Linked DNA regions of Homo sapiens: region 2 is linked to region 1. The links are contacts of gene promoters, found by promoter capture Hi-C in blood cells and fetal thymus (Javierre and others, 2016). All regions are on one chromosome and are shown on one strand. Each heading gives the region's core, a stretch centred on a gene start or on the middle of the fragment in contact. The rest is flanking DNA. Distances are from core to core; before and after follow the strand shown. Region 1 holds the start of ART4 (ADP-ribosyltransferase 4 (inactive) (Dombrock blood group)). Region 2 overlaps ARHGDIB (Rho GDP dissociation inhibitor beta).

Region 1 (4,113 bases), core at 1,000-3,499:
CACCAGAACTTGAGCTTTTCCCTACCCCAGTTGTTTTCACTGATGGTTCTCTCTCTCTGTCTCTCTCTTTCTCTCTCTCTCCCCACCTTCTCTCTCTCTCCCTACCTTCTCTCTCTCCCCTCCCCTCCCCACTCTCTCGCTCCCCTTCTCTTTTGCTCTCCCCCTCACTCTCTCTCCCTCTCTCCCTCTATCTTTCTCCCTCTCTCTCTCTCTTTCTATCCCCCTTCCTGCTCCCTGCCCCATTCCCTTTTCTGTTCTCCCTCTTTTAGACTGAGTGGTATAAAATGTTACAAAGTTTTCTGCTGCCCTCCAGTGGTCTTATCCTGGAAGTGGCAGTCACGATAGGAAAAATAGCAAAACCTTTATAGAAGATAATAATAAAATGACACACTCTTTTAGAGTGTTTTAAGATCGTGGGCTTCAGGAGACAGAAAAGCACCTGTGATTACTAAAAAGTTATTAAACTTCACAGGGCCTCAACAACCACATTTATAAAGGAAAGGTTAAAATATCTCTTCATGGTCGTCCCATGGGTTGAGATAACATGCAAAAAGGTCTTGAAGTACAGTACTTGCTCAATAAAAGAAAAGTTTCACCTTATTTAAGCCTGACAACTTTCTATAAGGTTAAGGAAACTGAGGCTAAGCACAAATTACTTATTTTTTAAAGTTACCTCAGCCAGCATTGTGGGTAGAACTCAAACTATAATTCAAATTTTCATATTCTAAGTCTAGTTCTCTTCATGACATCTCAATATTCCAAAGTAACAGTTGCTAATAAGGAACCTTAAGAATTGTTAAAGTCTTAAAGGGATATTTTCACACACTGCTAGTGGTTGCCATTAAATCTGAAAAATATGCATTCCATGGATCAGTAGTCACATCTCTAGAACTGCATCTTAAAAATTGTGAGAAACACACAAAAATTTATGTAGTTGAAAACAAGCTAAATATAAGATATTTATTAAATAAACTTTGGTGCAAATAATAATAATTGGTTTTATTTGTTGGAAAATTTCTAGGTGCCAGATGCTATTCTAAGGAGTATGAATGTATCAACACTAAAATGAAGTTGGTACTATTATTATCTCCATTCAACACATGAGGAAACAGAGAGACAGAGAGGTTAAGTAGCTTGTCCAAGATCACACATTTAGGAAGAAGGAGCACCAGGAATTGAACTGAGATGTCTTATTCAAGAGTCCATGTTCTAGTCACTTATCAATCTTCTTCTGAGACTGTCCATGGATCCACCCATGCTGTCCCATTGTGTGGCAGCACCTATGTAATGGAATATAGTGAACCTTTGTTTAAAAAATGTTTCAATAGGTATTAAATTATATAGGGACATGCTTACATTAAAATATTAAGGGGAATAAACAGTATGCAAAACTGCATACTATATTATTTCAGTTCTAGAAACCTGTGTGTGTGTATGTCTAAGGGTGTATAAATCAAAATCCAGACCTAATTAGTGGCTGTCTCCAAGTGACGGGTTATGTGTCATTTTTTTCTCCTTTGTGCTTTCTAAATATTCTGAATATTTGTTAATGAGACAGAACTGCTGTGATCATCAGAAAATTTAGATTAAAAAAATTCAGGGTGCCAAAAAATTCTAGAATACTTAAGAACAGCACTTAGTTTACCTTAAAAGTTAAAAATTGAATCCAGAAGTAAATATTTGCAAGAAAAACAATTATCAAGGATTGCTAACTTTTAGTTTCTTAAATAATGAATCCAGAAGTATAAATACAAAATATTTGCAAGAAAATATAATTATATCAAGGGTTGGGAGGAGAAGAAGGATGTTTAGACTAGAAAGGGTAGTACCTACCTAAAAGAGAGTGCTTAATAGAACTGTGCTGGATTAAGTTTGCACAGTGGACCCTATTTTAACTTATGTCAGCTCTACATAAGCAGTCTCCTGACAGTCGTCATTAGGATTCACTGGAGACTGGAACTGTGCGGACAGAGGGCCTGTCTTCAGAAGAGAAAATGGGGGAAGAGCTTTGAACCCAGAGGTACAATCTCTGGATTGGAGAGTTTCAAAGGTGCCAGGGAAAAGCAGTACAAAGAGCCTTCTTTTTGACAATAACTCTAAAACACACTTTGCTCTGTGAACGCCCGTCCTGGGCAGGGCCTATCAGCAGGGCCAGATGAGCCTATAGACACCCAGGGTGGCGCGTTCCCAGCCGCCCTGCGCATGCCAATCTTATCAGTTTTGATGGAAGCCTGGGGCTCCAGATAATGCTACTTGGCCCCAAACGCTGGACAGAGCATGCTTTTTCCTGTTTGGCTGGGAAAGGGAAGGCTGAACTGCTGAGTCTGACACTTAACAGGACTTCGGCATTCCCCTGAATACAGACTAGATCAGAGATTTTATTTTTTTAATTGAAAAGTAACTTGGGTTCTCTTTAGAAACCCTTATTTGGTGTGCGCATCTGGCTATTTCACAGAGATTTCAGTTTTGCAAAGAAGTCGGAGTTGATTTCTTCCCTCAGACAAGCTATTGGTTGTTGGTGGGCAACAGAAGTTGCTCAGCATAGACAGGGGAAAAAACGGTTACGGATGAGACTGAAAGAAAACCTCAAAGGAGAACTCTGAGAATTCATCTCAGGATGAAGCTGCAAGGGCAAAGGAGAAGTACTTGTGACACAAGCAAATGGGTCCATTGATCAACAGATGCAAGAAGATTCTTCTCCCAACTACTGTACCTCCTGCAACGATGAGAATCTGGCTCCTTGGAGGCCTGCTGCCATTCCTGCTGCTCCTCTCTGGCCTGCAGAGACCCACAGAGGGTTCTGAGGTAGGGGGACAATTGAGGGGGTGATCTCTTTATGATCAGTGCTCCAACAGAGCATTCACCCGGCCACAGCCTTTAAATGGCCGAAAACTTAGGCATTCAGAATCTAGTTTCATTCAGACATTTTAACAAATCATGTTAGTAAAGAGTGTTGAAAACAGTTATGAAAAATTGTAGAATCCTTCACTGTTAGTACACTTGACATTATGGATGCTAGTGGCATAAAGTTATTTTCCTGATCCACTGTAAAAATTAAGTAAAATATTGCTTCCATAGTACAAACAATGCAAAATAAACCAAGTCTATTTGGCTTTAAACTCTAGCATACAGATTGACTTAAGTTTTAAGTGAATATTTTAATAAAGATCTGTGTAACAAAAAACAACCTAATGTTAAGAGATGACAGAGTACATATTTGAGATCTAGTAACATATTAACAAAGTTTCAGAGTTCATCATGACAGTTGACAGAACATTGTATTATTGGTTTGGTTTGGCTCGGCTTGGCTTAAATAGATACCGTAGACCTATTTTAATACCTGATGTGAAGAGTTATTGGTTAAAATCATTTAATCAGTCTTAAAAATGTGTTCTAGTTCACAAACAACTAGCTGACGTCTCATCATAAATAACATAGTAAAAATACCAAATGGGATGTTCTTTAAGTTCCAGTTCCAACATCCTTAACATTGACTGGATGGAATGTGATCCTTTAACATGTCCCTCAATGAGTACTGTTTATTACGAAAACATCATTTCTTTGCCAAGAAAGGAATGTTTTAGAATTTATATAATTTATATATGGCTCTAAATGATAGTCTGATGATATTTTGTGGACTTCTATTCAAATCTGTCATTTCAGTTTAGCATGCACTAGACGTGAATAAACAACATTCTGTTGGCTACCCATTAGAAAGGAATGTCCTTTTCCAGGAGGGGAGGGACTTTCCTAGGCACATTCCTGACCACTGTCCAACCCTTGACTCACTCTGCTGTCCCTGAGGGGGACAAATGTACTTGACTGGTAACATGGGAAAAAACAACTGGGTGTGCTGAGTTTGGCTCTGCTCTTCATCCTCCTGGGAGTTAGCCTGATGGCAAAGGGCATCAGTTCTCTGTTTCCCCATGACAAGAATCTTACCTGGGCAGGCCCCAGTTCAGTACTGCCTGCAAACGAGTCGGTCCCATTCTGGAATTTGCTCTTAACAAGCCACTTGCTATCAGACCTAACAATGTGACTGCTGTAGCGTGCCCTTTTTCAGTAAGAAAACAGATATTTTGGCTTTCATATTTTGCTATTTTTATTATCAAT
Region 2 (3,817 bases), core at 56-2,555, 120 kb before region 1:
TCCCTCCCAAAGCAGATATAGCACAAGCTTAGTAACAAGAGCATCTTACTCTTTTGTGAGATGTGTGAAATTCTAAGAGACAGTTCTTTCTCCATCCATGCTTCACAGATGCAAAACCTGAGGACTAACTATGCTGTCACTGAACAGAAACTGGCAAGCATTTTTCAGGCCTCGACTGGAATTTGGTCCTTCCTTGCTTTGGAGAGCATGAGTTTGTCCCCTAGGGAAGTTAGCTCTGAGCAACATTAAGGTTCTGTTTTCAGTAGACACTCAGCACCACAAAGTCATTCTGAGGGAAAGATACGGGTCTGAGCTGATTTGGGAGAGCACAGTACATGACAAACATCAGCTAGCAGGAAAAGAGAAGCCCTGGGGAGTCGAAATTATGCAGATAGAAAAGGAGAACCAACATTCATTGAGTGCCTTCTATGTGTCAGGCCTGGTGATAAAAACTTTCAAATTTTGTTCCTGAGAAGAATGCAGAAGTGTTCAATAATTTGACTAAAATTACATACTGATACAAAAAGGATCAATAGCCACAATGCCTCTGAATTGCAATTCACAGGGCATGGTGGTGCGTGCCTGTGGTCCTACCTACTCAGGAGGCTCACGTGATCCTCCCGCCTCAACCTCCCGAGTAGCTGGGACTATAGGCGCGCATCACCACGCTGGCTAATTTTACCATTTTTAGTAGAGACGGGGTTTCTCCATGTTGCCAGGGCTGGTCTTGAATTCCTGGGCTCAAGCAATCCGCCTGCCTTGGCCTCCCAAAGTCCTGGGATTAAAGGCGTGAGCCACCATGCATGGCCTATTATTATTTTTTTGAGACAAGTCTCACTCTGTCACCCGAGCTGAAGTGCAGGGGCGTGAACGCAGCTCACTGCAGCCTCGACCTCCTGAGGCTCAGGTGATCTCCCACATTCTTTAGGAAGAATCACATGGAAGAAATTTTCTCCAATTCCATATTTTGAGAGTTCTTATTCCTGGTTTGTGTTATTGCTGCCCGGGATCCTGTATTCAAGGCTACACTGGCATACCCAGAGATGAGTCTCATGTTGCCCCTGAAACGTCAGCAACATTTATCTGTGCAATAAGCACATCCTGAATCATCCTGTGTTGTGTTACTCTCTGGTGTCCACAGCCAAAGAGTGAATTTTACCGCTGGTAAAAATTCACTTGGGCTTTCTTAAAGAGCCTAATAATCTTAGCACAAACGGTCATAAAAAAAATTCTCTCTCAATTCTGTCTAACTTTTCATGCTAATTTAAAACTTTTGTGAATATATTGAGATACTGAAGGCAATGGCTTCCTTAATGCACAGTTTTCTTTGAGAATTATTTAAAATAATATTTGTGAAGGTACTTGGTGGCATGACTTCACACGTTGGGCACTCAGCAAAGCTCACGGGATCTCTTTGAGTTCTCTCTCTTTGTGCATATGAATGTGGGTTAGAAAAACACACTAAAAAATGCACAGGCAAGAAATAATAAATTGTTTCTCTCACAAAGACAAATGGTAAGAAATTACGTTTCTAGTAATTTGTGCCCTTCTCTGGATTGATTACAATATTTATTGTCTCTTACAAAATAATCTTGTCTTTGGTTTTTCTCATCCAGTTTTGAAGTTTTCGTAGTCCTTCATGGGGCTGAGGTGGTAGAAAGCAGCACCGCAAAGTGGGGAGTATGGATTCCTCCATGTCACCAGGGACAGGGGCGGTGGGGAGAGGGTGGAATCCCGAACCAAGAAGGCTTCTGGTGTCCTGAGAGACAAATTTGCAATCCCGTAATACACCAAATTGCCAGGCAAGCAGCACAGCACATTCAAATCCTTGACTAGCTCTGAAATGTCAACAGTGTTTTAGAGATGGCCTGACTCTCCAGACCTGCACTAGACCCACAGCCCGATTTGGGGGAAGTCAGACATATCCTAGTCAGCAGGGAAAGTGGAGGTAGCAGGAGTTACAGAGAATGCTGATGCTCACATAGGAACTTCTCTGATAGAAATCCCCTACTTCTGGTATTTCCACTTTTCTCTCTCTCTTCCCTCTCTCTCTTTCTCCCTTCTCCCTCCTCTCTCTCTCCTCTTTCTCTCTCCCTCTTTCCCCTCTTCCTTCTCTCTCTCTCATCGCTATCTCTTCTACCTAATACATTAATATCCATGGCCTGTGTGTCTAGATGCATAATCCAGCACAATTTTGCAGATCCAGCTTTGGGCCGTGAGTTAAGTCTCTGTGGTATTTTGCTCCAGAGCCAGAGGGAATTCTCTTCATTAGCTGTGCCTGTGTTCACTGACATTTCTCATCATTCGCAGAGTGACCTCTGGCTTCAATGAAGACAGGGAGCAATAAATAAAACCTAAAATTAAATTGTTTACATGAAAGTTTTTAAAAGAAATATAATATAGTCTCATTTTAAGGTTGATTCAGTTTTTAAACAATCCTTTCAATTCCCCAGAACTTCTTATCTCTTTAATACTCCTCAAAGACAAAAATCTATTTTTAAGGAGGAAGGAGTGGGGACATAGCTCCCATCCAGGGGAAAGTATTTGGTGTGGAAACAGTTACCTAGCTTCAGTGAAGCTTTGCAACAAAGCAGACCACACTGGGGCAGGGAAGGAAGAAGAGGAAGGGAACAAATATTCACGGAACATCTATTCTTGACCAGTATAGTCCTATAATTTTTCATGTGTTTTCTCCAATCTTTCAACCCCGTAAAAAAGAATATCCCCATTTTAGTGGTGATAAAACTGAGGCTCAGTGAAATTAGCAACTTGATTGAGTCCTGTCATAATGCAGAGCCTGGTTTTGAATCCCTGGTCCATCTGACTCAATCTATGTTCTATGAGACATGAAAGTCACCTTTCTCTGAATTACCCAGGTAATTTGTTTAATCTAAACTCAGGAGTTCTACCTTTTCTTGTCCTCAGTTCATTTAGAGCTGCATTAATGAAACAGATGATGCTCTATCCTGACATGGGTGTAAATTTTTAAGTGTAATTCACTTTCAAAGTCTTGGAAATTTCACTGAATTTGCAAGCAAAAACATTGATGTGTGCTATGTCATATGCATGCTGTGAGTAACCATCCTAATTTAATTCGACATTTTAATTGAGCCTGAGAAGATTAAGTCCCCATCTCAGCACATCTAATGCTTGCCAGTGCTTTGCTGAGTAGCAAACATGAGGATGTGAGGCCTCCAATGTGAAAGTTAATCTGTATGCGCATCTGTGAAGCAGAAAATACAGAAAACTAGAGTAGCAAGCCTGTGTGAAAAAATGATATGTGCTTTGGGGCCTAATAAATGGGGTCCACATTAACCTGGTTAAACATATAACTGTTCATTCTCCATTTCATTTTTCCTGTGCAAAGGACCAAAGTCAAAAATAAGCAAAACTCAGCTCTGCCCTTTGTAGAATAGGGGATGAGCAGCTGAGGAAGGTGAGGAAAGCCCATCCAGAAGATTCTATGCTGATGGGCTGAGTCCTCCCCAATCTCCCTTTTACTTCCTCTTTTCTTTTCTCATTTCACAAGCTTCTTTAAATTAGGGAGCATTTGAGTCATTAAATTAAGAAGGGGCCTCAGAGATCCTCTCATGCCACGGCTTCTTTTTGCAGAGGATGAAACTGGGGCCCAGTGAGGTTAAGCAACTTGCAGGAGGTAACGCAGGAACCGAGTTGCGCTGAAACATCGTTATCTGACACTTCCCTGCTTTGTTAAAGCTGTCTCTGCAGAGCTTGCAAAGAAGCATTTACCTCTGCTTGTGCACCTCCAGGTAGATTCCCAAGATGACTAACAAACTCTAATTTTATTATAACTTCT

The links. Contacts are between HindIII fragments. The CHiCAGO score rates a contact against its expected background, and 5 or more counts as called.
Region 2: a fragment that was not itself captured here is called in contact with the fragment with the promoter of ART4 in region 1 in 1 of 17 cell types (erythroblasts); the score reaches 5.2 in erythroblasts.

The regions. Positions count from the first base shown.
Region 1 is chr12:14,841,662-14,845,774 of GRCh38, reverse strand. ART4 (ADP-ribosyltransferase 4 (inactive) (Dombrock blood group)) reads left to right here and starts at 2,249. Exons shown (of 3, transcript NM_021071.4): 1 at 2,249-2,805. The coding sequence starts at 2,662. The HindIII fragment of the contact is 16,901 bases long and covers 1-4,113 here.
Region 2 is chr12:14,956,129-14,959,945 of GRCh38, reverse strand. The region is part of intron 1 of ARHGDIB (Rho GDP dissociation inhibitor beta); the gene reads left to right. Among named protein-coding and RNA genes, the nearest start is that of ARHGDIB, 3.6 kb to the left of the region's middle. RefSeq lists enhancers at 1-2, 3,611-3,780. The HindIII fragment of the contact is 2,551 bases long and covers 30-2,580 here.